Regions from separate parts of the Homo sapiens genome. Here region 2 is linked to region 1. The links are contacts of gene promoters, found by promoter capture Hi-C in blood cells and fetal thymus (Javierre and others, 2016). All regions are on one chromosome and are shown on one strand. Each heading gives the region's core, a stretch centred on a gene start or on the middle of the fragment in contact. The rest is flanking DNA. Distances are from core to core; before and after follow the strand shown.

What was found. The method cuts DNA at HindIII sites, captures the fragments that hold promoters and counts their contacts. A CHiCAGO score of 5 or more calls a contact.
Region 2: the fragment with the promoter of KIF2A here is called in contact with a fragment that was not itself captured in region 1 in 3 of 17 cell types (total CD4 T cells, non-activated CD4 T cells and naive CD8 T cells); the score reaches 9.4 in total CD4 T cells.

The regions. Positions count from the first base shown.
Region 1 is chr5:91,379,006-91,385,574 of GRCh38, reverse strand. It overlaps ARRDC3 (arrestin domain containing 3), which reads left to right and starts at 2,258. Exons shown (of 8, transcript NM_020801.4): 1 at 2,258-2,762. The coding sequence starts at 2,483. It overlaps ARRDC3-AS1 (ARRDC3 antisense RNA 1), which reads right to left and starts at 5,228. Exons shown (of 3, transcript NR_027435.1): 1 at 4,651-5,228. RefSeq lists enhancers at 1,492-1,791, 1,671-2,188 and silencers at 2,042-2,351, 4,497-4,566, 5,187-5,366. The HindIII fragment of the contact is 2,432 bases long and covers 2,520-4,951 here.
Region 2 is chr5:62,301,119-62,307,569 of GRCh38, reverse strand. KIF2A (kinesin family member 2A) reads right to left here and starts at 1,364. Exons shown (of 21, transcript NM_001098511.3): 1 at 1,034-1,364. The coding sequence starts at 1,097. RefSeq lists a silencer at 631-1,660. The HindIII fragment of the contact is 9,341 bases long and covers 1-6,451 here.

The DNA of each region.
Region 1 (6,569 bases), core at 2,486-4,985:
CAGTTACCTAAGTATTTAAGAAGACACAGTAAAAAGAAAATTTTAAAAATAGCAAAATAAATAATAAAGACAACTATTCAAAAGATCCTGAAAGCTTCAAACACAAAGAATAATGTACTACACAGTGACAGGAATGAAACATTTAATATTTTAAAACAATTTTCCAAACTACAAATAAATTTCTTAGACTTCTTTTTTATTAAATGCAATTCTGGTGTATTTATATAGCTAATTCTTATTTTTTCTGAAATGAGTTATATTCTAATTAAATAAATTTTACTAAAAAAATCCGAATTCAGCTGTTCACTAACCCTTAATAATTTTTAACATAAATGTAGACACAAATGTGCAATGAATTTATGTATTCATTATGGACTACACTTTTAAATCCATTCCTTGCTCAGTGGTTTTCGAATGCTTATTAAATATCATTGACCTTATGCTGAGGAAAAGCTGTCATTCTAGGAAATTCACCACTTCTACCACTAGGTGGAGAAAAAACACAAGTAGTATCTGTAATCAAAGCTAGTACAAGGCCCCAGGTACTTTACCTAGAATTTCCACCAGGTGTCAACCAAGAGGTAGGGAAAAGATAAGACTGTTTTTCCCACTTAAATATGCAAATTTATAATTTTATGCATAGCGATCTAAACTCTGAAATAAATGGCCTGCTCATTAATTGTCTAGTTTGCATATTTATACTCTTTATATATTGCTGTTGAGTCCAAGATATTGCCTTGTCAACTAAAATCCAACCCCCAAAAGCTTAGTTTCTTTTGAAATAAAACAGCAAGACCAATAAGTTTAGTTTATTGTGACTCATAGGCTCAACCTATCCATATACACTACGCAAAAGAATCTAAAACGTTTAGACACGGACAGCCAAAAATCTTCCAAGGTATTTTTGGTCATACATATATATATAGAGAGAGCACCAGATTCATATTTTTTCTTTCTACATTTCTCTTGTAAGGCAGTTCTGTTGATTGCCAGTAATCTAGATGAGTTTATGCTGTTATGCTCTGAATCCCAGTGTGATGTGACGAAAGCACTGCTATTTTTTACCAAACATTCACAATAAAAAGAGAAATGTACCTATATTTAAGATGTATCATGAGAATTACTACGTTAAATGGTCCAAGGCTCTCGGCCGAAAATTAAAGCTTCACACAGTTAAATCCCTATTTATATACCAAATCATGCTTTTTAAAAACAATTTTATGCGCTTCACTAATTTCTAACAAAGATTTTCCGATTCTGTTGCAAACAATATGTCAGCTAAACCACTATGTCATATGCCTTTTATAAGGTAGTACTTTTTTAGGCCGAACTCTATTCTTATTCCTCTGGACACAGGAGTTGTAATCATGTCTTACTCTGCAAATCTAGCCGTAGGTGGTGTCTTAAAAGGACTTTTTCTTCCTTCGAGGAAGTGATCAAGCTTCCCCCAGCCCCCACCCGTGTCATCCTGGAAACAACTTGGTTGTTTTTCGGTGCTAATTAAGCAATGTAGGAGAAAGAAGTTGAGGAGACAGCAAAGCCTATTGATTACATTGTACTTGCTTCTCTACCTCGCTCTTCAAAGGATTAAGGTTCCTTTGACCTCGACTGAGTTCATTTCCAACCTGCCTACAAAGTACTGGTTTAAAAAAAAAAAATCCAAGCAAAGTATGCTCTTGTCTATGAACAATATTTCTTGTCCGGTTTTATTACGTTTTCTTTGGAAATTCGTTAGATTATGCTCAACAATCGGCCGCTTGCCCAACCGGTTTCTCCCTTCCCCCATCTCTCTTCACACATCACTTTTTCCTCCTCCCATCCAGGCAGTTGGTAAAACGCTGCAGTGCCGGTAACGCACGCTTCGGGCTGGTCGCTGCAGTTTATCCTAACTTGGCTTTGCAAACTCCCCACCCAGCCCTTGTACCCTCGCACCCCACTCTGCCATTATCTTTCTAGTAGAGTGCGCTCGGTAACGGGCTCCAGATAGCACGTCGAGGGTATACGGTAGCCTGCCTACCAATAGGAGCCCACAATGAAGAGAAGTCAGGTTCAGCCGGCCAGCAGCTCCAGTATCTCCTTCCCCTAGCTCTACACCTACTGTACCCGGGAGCGAGCGGGCAAGGGAGCGAGCGCGGCGCGGCGCGGCGCGGGAGGGGGCGCGCAGGGAGGGCGGACAGCAGCCGCGGCCTGCGCCTGCGCACTGGGGTTGTTTTTCACAAAGCTGCTCTTAAAGTGAGCTGGCAGCTTTTAGCCGCCCGTCTTTGTAAGGAGACCACTGAGACGAGCGGGAGCGCGGAGCAGCAGCCTCTGCTGCCCTGACTTTTTAAGAAATCTCAATGAACTATTTGTAGAGAATCACTGATCCGGCCTGCAAGCATTTTGCACGGCAAAAATATCGATCAGTGTTAAGTGAAGATCACATTTTATATGCGATCTTGACTTTTTTGTCTTACATTATATTTTTATAGATTTTGTTATAAACATGGTGCTGGGAAAGGTGAAGAGTTTGACAATAAGCTTTGACTGTCTTAATGACAGCAATGTCCCTGTGTATTCTAGTGGGGATACCGTCTCAGGAAGGGTAAATTTAGAAGTTACTGGGGAAATCAGAGTAAAATCTCTTAAAATTCATGCAAGAGGACATGCGAAAGTACGCTGGACTGAATCTAGAAACGCCGGCTCCAATACTGCCTATACACAGAATTACACTGAAGAAGTAGAGTATTTCAACCATAAAGACATCTTAATTGGGCACGAAAGAGGTAAGTTTTTGTTATTCATAAGTCATTGGACTCATTTTCTTTGGAAACGTACCTTTTCAGTTTTCTGAATTAACGTGATTCTACTCCTAGCATAACTAAGCAGTTTGAGAAAGGTTAGCAAAGTTGGAAGGTTTGGATTCTCCTTGACGTTCATCGTGTGTTAAGCCGTAATGCATGCAGGCATCTGCAAAGTGACTGCAAACTACACTTATTCAGCTACCTCTGTACCCGGCTCGGTCTGTGCCACACGCACTTGTAGTCCATTTGCACCTTACTTATAAATTCTGTTTGAATCCAATTCAGTCGTTTTACTAATATATTTTCAAATGAATTGGTAAAAGCTGCAGTCTTAGATTTTTGCCCTTTTACTTGCAACCTAAGATGTAAAAACTGAACTTCGATCAAGAAATGTAATAACATTTTTAAGAGACTTAATGGGTGTGTTTCATTTTTAATATTGGAATGCAAAAGACTTTAAATAATTGATGACTGTTCTTTCATAAAAGATTTCTGTGGCTTATTTTGACATATGGTATCAACACCCCACGTGTTTTTTCTCTATTCTTTACCATTCCTTTAAAAATTTACACCCAGCATTCCTTATTTTAAAGGAATGACTATCTGTCATTATGATAGGTATCGAGTCAGGTTTAGAAGCCATTTAGGATCAGTAATTTTCTTTTCCGAGCATCATGTCTAACTTTGGAACGTGCATTCAATGAAACCCATGCCAGTCAAATGGAATTGAAAAGTATAGGGCACACTGGATTTGATTTTTGGTTAGAAGAGAGAGATAAAGGGTTGTCAAAAGGAGAAGGAGTCCTGAGATTTCCAATCTATTGTTTAAATGGTTACATTGTGGAAATATAGGAGACTCTAGGCTTGTTTTTCTAAGTTTCCACCCTTTGTTAGAAGCGGTTCAATCCTGTTTCGGACCAGTTCTGGGGGGTGGTGAGGAGGGGCGCTTGTTCTGCTCTCAGCAGATTGGTTACACGCGTCAGGTGGTGGCGATGACTTAATTCCTAGCCCAAGAAGAATATAATGTTAAAACTGGTTATGTAATTTTTGTGCCTCTCCTTTTTAATGCAGTATTTAGTTCAGATGTTGGCGATTTTTCAGAAAAAAAATTAGAGACATATTTTACCTTATTTTTTATATTAAAAACGTACATCCTGGAGAAGTGCTGATGACTAAGGCAAGTGAGAAATGAAGGATGCTTTGAGGGACAGTATTAATGCATTATTTTTGAAACTATTAAGGTGAACTCAGTTCTTTAGCAGGATTTTCGTAGTTAGATACAGGTACTTTGCATCCTGAAATAACTAATTAATCTCTCCAAGTGTTAACACTGATAGGAGATGCAAATGCCTAATGACAGCCTTGGTATTTGTTGAAAAGCAGATAGATGACTTTGTGTTTGTACCTTTCTGAATATTGCAGCCTTTTATGAAACGGATGAAAGAAAACAGATTTTTCCTCAAGGGGTTAAGACTTGCAGTGGGGAAAAGTAGAACAACGAGATGTGAGGACAAATATAATTTCATTAGTTGCACCATGATTTCGTGGTAAAGAAAACTAAATGCCCTGCACCCCCAACAAAATGCCCCCCAAACCCTGCAACGCGTAGACGAGCTCAGTCTGGAATAGTTTCAATGACTTGAAACTGGGAGCTCTCAAACTAGCCTGGTAACTGAGACCCCGCCCCGGGCGCCCGGGATAGGCGGAGCCAGGTTTGTTAGCCTGTTGCTAAGGCGATGGCAGGCGCTGATTGGATTGGGCGCGGGCGGGTGGGGAGAGTGAGCTCGCGCCGCGGCTGGGGCGAGGCTAGGAAACCGGCGTGCGCCGGTAAAGGTTCCTCCAGAGCGACCCCCACCCAGCCCGTACTCACGTTTGTTCCCGGGCTTCTGGGGGCGCCCAGCCCGTGTCAACATCATGTTCTGTCGCCCCTCTTTTGGGCCTCCTAAGGGCCATCGAAAGGAAACGACTTCAGGCTTTAACTGAGTAGAGGGCAGACGCTCCTGCCGGCCTTACAGGTGCTGGATGGCCATGGACCCAACTTTAGCAGAAAATCCTTTTCAGATGGAAGTTGGATGGGAAGGGTTGGCAGGACCCCCGTTAGCTATCTTCCGAGTGGGAGGTGTCAGGGGACTCCTGTGAACGCTTGTTTTCCCCTTAGCTGAAACAAAGCTTGTTCCCCGACCTCTCCAGTCGCCACACTGTCTACCTTGAGTTGACCTGAGGGGACAGAGCAAAGGCTGGCCCGAGGAAGAAGGAAAGTGATTCCAATATCGAAATGTTGGGGGAGGGGGGGGCTTCGACGGGTATCCTCTGCCCCCTCCCCCATCGTTTTCCGAAGCCTTCGGGCCCCCGCCTCCCCTTCGCCACCCCAATATCCCTTGCCGAAACTAAAGGTGTCAGAGTGGCCCGAGCCAGATGGAACCGGTCGCCGGCTGGGGCGTGTAAAGCGGAAGCGCCGCGGCTCGCTCGCCCCGCCCCCCGGCCAGCAGGCTAGGTTGCGCGGGCACGGGCGCGAGCGCCGCGCGACGTATGCCGTATGTATAGCGGGGCGCGCGGGCGGCAGCGGCGGCGGCGGCGGCGCGCGGGCAGGCCGGCTGGGATCTGCTCGCGCCGGTTTAGGCCGGTCCTCTCCTGCTCCGGTCTAGTTCTTGATTGACAGCCCGGCACTTGTTTACCACGGCGCGGCCGCCGCCGCTCGCTTCAATGAGACTGCTGAGCTGGCACAAAAAGGGAGCGAAGAGGGAAGAAAGGGAAAGGAAGGCGAACTTCGGGCGCCTTCGAGGGGAGCGAATTTAAATGGCCCCCAGCTCATCAGCTAGTTTTTGGTTCTGAAATCCGTTCAGGGGAATTTGCACAGGGGACGAGGAAAATTGTATGGAGACATAAGCGAATCACCATGATTTTTAAATGAAAGTATCGACGTATACATGCTTTTTTCCCCCTTTTTCTCGTTTAATATCAGGGAGGCATCACGTTTTTTGTGTATATCCAATACTTTGCTGAAGGAAAGTTAAATAATGTGCCAGTTTTTTCTACTCTGGGGGCTAATCGTAAAGGTTTCTACACCAAGAAAACTTTAAAAGATATTTCTGTAATTATTTAAAACGCTAAATAGGCACTTTAATGATCTAGAACCCCCTCCCATATTTTCGATTATATTTATTTTCATGCCACTTGAAAAAAAATAATTTCACCAAAAAAATTGGTTGTAAAATGAAAGGTCATCCCTTTTTTATAGAAACTGGAAACTATTAATAGTTAGACTTCATTTTTTTCAAGGATGTTGGAAAATATTGTTTCCTTATAAGCCGACACCACCTAAATGCGGTTCTTTGTAATTATCTAAGGTATAGTTTATGCAAGTTTTAGTCGTTGCTAGGACCAACTGAGTGTTGTGATCATTTTAGATCAATAAATAATTATTTTTAGTTCAATAAATAATTATTTTTAGTTATAAATCTGACATTAAAATCAATGTGTGGCTTTTTTTTTTTTTTTTTTTACTCCGTCTATTTGACAAGGTTTTCTAGTGGTTTTGGAGTATCTATTCTATTCACATCTGGTATTATTATTCCCTATAAACTGACATATTTTAAGAGGGTTGCATGAACAGTTTTTCTTTGATACATTATAGTCTTAATGTGATAAATTTAAGCAAACCGTTGGAGACAAAGGATAGCATTGTCTTACCATGATGTGAGACCCGAGCCTTTTGAGTATATATACTATTTTATAAACAGATGCTTTGCAGTTTGGGTCATTTTCCATTAGAAAAAATAAAAAGCCTGT
Region 2 (6,451 bases), core at 115-2,614, about 29 Mb after region 1:
CTCGTTCTTTCAATATTGGTACCGAAAGAAAATAATTTTACTTATCTCCCTCCGTGCATTTATTCCTTTACAATATGAATTATTTCCAGTCTGGCTGGCGTATCTCACTCCACACCCCAAGCTAGTGTCATAAACCATTTTCCCCAAGAGAAACCTAGAGAAAGATACATAAGCCTAAGGCTCTTAAAAAAAAAAATGAAGCATGTGTCTTCACCTCGCCTTACACTTTTCTCAGTTACCTCTCCCGAGGGTGTGAAAATATCAACATCCGGTCGCCCACCCCCACTCTCTCAGCAGTGCCTCGCATTGACTCTGCCCATCCCCTATCATTCCCTTTACAGTCTCATCACCTTGGAGAAGCCCATCGAATATTTCTTCCCATTGCTCCCCCACCCTTATTCATGGCTCAGCGCGATATTCTCCACATTTTTCTCCCAAGAAGTGGCAAAAAAGAAAGCAGCATGGTCGACGACGAAACCGGGGAGGCCTGACAACCAGACGGCAGTTTAAGGCGACGGAACTGGCTCTTTCCCCCCATCTCGGCCTCCGACCAGCAGTCGGTTCTCTAAATGTGAAATCGCTGGTCTTCCCGCTCCCCCACCCCCATCCCCATCCCCGTCAGAGGCCAAGCCGGTAAAATGCAAAGACCAAGGGGAAGCGCGAGGCAGGGTCATCCCTAACGAAGCCCGCTCCCTCCCGGGCTGGTGTCCCCGGGGGGGGGCTGGAGATTGCGGGAGGAGGAGCGAGCGGCCCTCGCCCAGAGACCCCCGGAGACGCGACCCTCGACACCCGGGCCCTTTCCCCACCCGGCTTCCCTCCCCCGCGGCCCGATCCGGAGAACTGCAGCAGCGCCCGGGCGGACCCCAAGCCGGCCTCACTGGCACACACGCCACACACAAAAGCGCCGCGGCCGCCGCCTTCCCACCCCCACAGCCCGGCGAAGCAATCAATGAGGCGGCCGGCGCCCGCGTCCCCTCCGTGCACACCCGAACACGGGGCCGAGCGGGCCAGCGGGGCTGGCAGCGCGGCTCACCATCGCTGCGCTTGATCTCCACGTAAATCCCGATCTGGATCTTGCCGAAGTTGGCCGTTGCCATCACCTCATCTGGAGCAGCAGCAGCGGGCCGAGGGAGGGGGACCGGAGGGCGGAAAAGGCGGGGAGGGGGCGGGGTAGGTGTGGGAGGGGGAGCGGTTGCCCGCGGCCGCGCCGGCCCGGGCGACAGCGTGAACGCAAGCGGGGCCGCAAGGAGCAGCTGTGGGGAAGCAGGCGGAGGCCCCGGGCCTGCAGGCCGGCAGGAGGACGCGCACGCCGGGTAGTCGGGGTGAAGCTAGGGCCGGGGCCGTGAGACGGCGCGGGGTAGAGTGGGAGGGCCCGCACCGCCCGCCGGGGAGCCGACGCTGGGGAGGCGGGGCGCCGCGCGCCTGCGCAGAGCGCGCCTCCGGCGTCTCTTCTTCCTTTTCGGCTGGCCTCTCCCCGCTGCCTCCAGGCGGCCCCGCCCAGCTCTGCAGCGGGGTGGGCGGCGGCCGCGGCTTACCCAGCCGCTGGAGCGTTGAGCGCTCGGCCCGGCCCACAGCTAGCCGGCGTCGCGTTTGATTTCAGCGCGCGGCCTAGAAGACGCGGGAAGCGTCGCGCCGAGCTTTCTTGCCCTCTCGCTTCCGGGAATTGGCGCTGTTGCCGGAATGGGTTAAAGGCCACGTGGTTTCAGGGGCTTTCTAGCGGGCTGAGGGATGTGAATTCAAGGGCCCTCCGTTGACAGTACGGGATCCGGGTTTTCATCGGAAGGTGGCACCCCCTATTTCCACTTACAGGTAGCTGACCCAAGCAGCCCTCCCAAGCACACTTGGTGTAGGTTTCCCATCCAGTTACGCTGGAAGGGAAGAAACACCCTTGAGGTGTCACCTACCCTAAATCGAAATGAAGATCCACCCCTTTACAGTCTTGCCTTATAGTTTATCACACTCAGAAAGAAGCTCTGTGGTGGGGCGTCCTTAACTGTTCAGGTTATGAGGCATCCGATGCTGGTGCCCTGTTTCTGCTGAGGGTTCAAGACTTACTTGCCTTGGCCTGTAAAGCCAACAACTGTGACTCAAGGGAAGAAGGCAGACACATAAGGTTGACTAGGGAATGTGTCTTTTTGCAATAATTTAATTAGTCTGACCACATCAGCAATGTGGAAAGCAAGACTCTCCATCCTGGCAGAGCAGGAAGGCCACGTGTACCGGGGCCCTGGAAACTGTATTTATAGCACCGTGTGAAAACCTCCAAACGTCTAACTCCTGCTTGTAGTACTGGCAATTGATAGGTTGGAAACAACACTTTTCATGGCCTACTTTCCCTAGTCATTGTTTTTTGTTGTTGTTGTTTTGTTTTGTTTGTTTTTGAGGGGGAGTCTTGCTCTGTCGCTCAGGCTGGAGTGCAGTGGCGCGATCTCCGCTCACTGCAATCTCTGCCTCCTGTGTTCAAGCGATTCTCACGCCTCAGCCTTCCGAGTAGGTGGGATTACAGGCCCGCGCCACCACGCCTGGCTAATTTTTGTATTTTTAGTAGAGACGGGGTTTCACCATGTTGGCCAGGCTGGTCTCAAACTCCTGACCTCAGGTAATCCACCCGCCTCCACCACCCAGAGTGCTGAGATTACAGGCATGAGCCACTGCGCCCGGCCTTCCCTAGTCATTGATAATCTCCCTGTAACAATAACTACAAATATACAATTTAAAATTTTAAAATTGGAAACTGGATATATACATCAATGCTTATGTGGATATATGTGTGCCTAGAGTTTTCTATCTAATGTAAGTAATCATGTAGGTCCTTAAAAAACTGTTAAAAGACTGGCTTCATCTGTAGCTTGAACATATTGAAGGTATACCTGTCAAAAGAACAATTCTATTGAATCCATTCTAAAGTGCATATAATTTCTATGGAAAAAAAACCACACTGGATAGACAATGTGGAAAATAACTTCTTTTACATTCCAGAAATGACACACTTGAGTACCCCGGTTTCAAGTGAAATTTGACCAAATCAGGGTTTAGTTTTTATTTTTTCTATAATTTTGGGAGTTTTATCTGAACTCTTCAAGCTCCTGTCTAGAATTCATTTTCTGATGTCTCTGCAACTGAGGTATAAAACATCTATTTATATTTTATTTATACTTTATAAAGAATGCAAAGAAATCAAGCTATACAGCTCAAAGTTAACATTGTTTCATAAAATATTATTATTATTATTATTAGAGACGAAGTCTAACTCTGTCGTGCCTAGGCTAGAGTGCAGTGGCATGATCTCAGCTCACTGCCACCTCCACCTCCCAGGTTCAAGTTATTCTCCTGCCTCAGCCTCCCAAGTAGTTGGGACTACAGGCGTGTGCCACTACGCCCAGCTAATTTTTTGTATTTTTAAAATAGAGACGAGGTTTCACCGTGTTAGCCAGGATGGTCTCGATCTCCTGACCTCATGATCCTCCCGCCTCAGCCTCCCAAAGTGTTGAGATTACGTGAGCCAACACGTCCAGCCAATAAAATATTATTTTGTATCGTGGTTGCTGACACATACCTTACACTCTGTGGTTTATATGGTTAATCTTAACCTTTAATCCATATAAAAGGTATTTTTAAAATATGTACATTGTTTTGCTCCATAAAAATGTATGACATAACACTTAACAAACACAAAACCTTTCCTTTATAAGACATACCCAAAAGGCTTACTTTTTTTGGTACACATCAGCATATGTATTTACCAAGACTTTCATTATGGGCTTTGTATGCTAGTGGCTTCCTAAAGAGCAGCCATAAATACATGCAATGTGGCTATGTTTCCATCAACATCCTGGATCAAATATTCTAACTCTGGCTGAGACATTAACAAGATATATAATCCTAACTAGAACTACTACTAATAAGATCCTGAATTAGTAACTACTAATTAATCACTAAGATATATACCCTACTAAGAACTACTGTTTTTATTAGGATTATATAGTCTGCACTCAGACATTTGTTCAATGAGTTAACTTCTTAAACTGCTCAGTATCTCAGTTACCTCTTTGATCAACCTGGAATAATAACTTACATTCTCTCAATCACAGAAAGTTTTTGTGAGGACAAATGAAATAAAATGTGATAGTGCCTTGATATTTATAATTTTTTTTTTTTGAGATGAAATCTCACTCTGTCGCCCAGGCTGGAGTGCAATGGTGCAATCTCGGCTCACTGCAACCTCTGCCTCCCGGGTTCAAGCAATTCTCCTGCCTCAGCCTCCCGAGTAGCTGGGATTACAGGCACCTGCCACTACACCCGGCTAATTTCTGTATTTTTAGTAGAGATGGGGTTTCACCATGTTGGTCAGGCTGGTCTCAAACTTCCGACCCCAGATGATCCACCCGCCTCAGCCCCCCAGAGCACTGGGATTACAGGCGTGAGCCAACGCGCCTGGCCTGTAATTTGTTTTATAAAAGTAAACCATCCTATAAAATATAACCCAGGCCAGGTGCTGTGGCTCATGCCTGTAATCCCAGCATTTTGGGAGGCCTAGATAGGAAGATCCGTTGAGCTCAGGAGTTTCAAACCAGACATTTGTATTCACATTCAGCTAAGTGAAAATACCAGGTGAAAGGCTGCTGATCACTTAGATCATGCAAAAGAGATAATATCATTTTTTTCTTAATACCTATCGCTGGCTTCCCAGAATAAAATCTGAATTCTTTACAAAACTGTACGCGATCTAGCTCTGGCTTCCTCGGCAGCCTCGTCTGGTGCTGCTCTCCTCTCACTCTGCTCCATTTTCGCAGAACTCCTTTCTGTCCCTTAAATCAGTCAAGATCTCTGATCAGGATGGCTGCTCTTGCTCATCTTTTCATGTGACTGATTCATCTTCCAGGTCTCAGTCAAAAATCACTCCTGGAAAAAGCCTTTCCTTGTCCCTCACCTTACCCCCACTTTTCTCAATCTGTCTTTCCTCCCCAACTCTAAAGTAACCTCCTCAAGGGTAGAAATCTTGCCTAAAATTCTTCACTCTATCTTTGGCACATAGAAGGGTACCTGGAACACAGCTGCTCAGCAAATATTTGTTGAATGAATGAAGGAAAAGTTTAATAATTTGTTATATGTTGCCAAATTTATAGCCTTAGGTAGTCTTTTCTCTCTGTTTGTTTGTTTTTTTTCTTTTTTTGAGATGGAGCCTCACTGTCGCCCAGGCTGGAGTGCAGTGGCATGATCTCGGCTCACTGCAACCTCTGCCTTCTAGGTTTAAGCAATTCACAAGAATCGAGATTCTCACGCCTCAGCCATCTGAGTAGCTGGGATTGCAGGCATGTGCCACCACACCCAGCTAAGTTTTGTATTTTTAGTAGACGACGGGGTTTTACCATGTTGGCCAAGCTGGTCTTGAACTCCCGACCTCAAGTGATCCGCCCACCTCAGCCTCCCAAAGTTCTGGGATTAGAGGCATGAGCCACTGTGCCTGGCTCATCTTTTCTCTTTCTGAATAAGCTCAATTGGTAATAGATTTTCTCATTAATATGACCCAGACAATCAATATTTAATGTTTCAATCATTTGAACCTCAAAAATCTCTAGTAGATATAGATTAGTGTATATGTAATAAATGTTTATAAAAATTTTAGGCTGGCACGGTGGCTCATGCCTGTAATCCTAGTCCTTTGGAGGCTGAGGCGGGAGAGTTTTTTGAACCCAGGAGTTTGAGGCTGCAGTGAGCTGTGATCCCACCATTACACTACAGCCTGGGTGATAGAGTGAAACCCTGTCTCAAAAAATAAAAAATAAAATTTTAAAACAAAAAGTGTATAAAGTAAAATGAAAGGGAAAGCCCTCGTTGCCCTCCAAGTCCCATTTTCTGGAAGTGGCCACTGTTAAGTATCATATTAATCCAATAATTCTCAATCTTTATTGGGCATAAAAGTCATATGAGATGATTGTTATGCAGACTCTTGGGTCCTATCATCAGAGATTGTGATTCAGTAGATCTAGTTTGAAGTGTAGGAATATGCACTTTTTTAACATTCACTCCAGGTGATTTTCACTCCAGGTCAGGTGATAATTCTTTTTTAAAATATATTTTACAAAAAATTTTAAGCCTGGGCAACATAGTAAAAACCTTGTTCCTGCAAAAAAAAAAAAAATTAGCTGAGCGAGGTGGTGCGTGCCTCTAGTTCCAGCTGCTCTGGAGGCTGAGGCAGGAAGATGGCTCGAACCCAGGAATTCATGGCTACAGTCAGCTATGATTGCACCACTGCACTCCCGCCTGACAGAGCAAGACCCTATCTCTAAAAATAAAATAAAATAAAATGAAATAAATTTTATTATATATATGATTTTACCTGTGTGACTGATATTTTAAAGAAATCATGCTGTATATACTGTTCTGAAACTTTCTTTTTAAAAAAAGTATATATATATATATATATATATATACACACACACACACACAC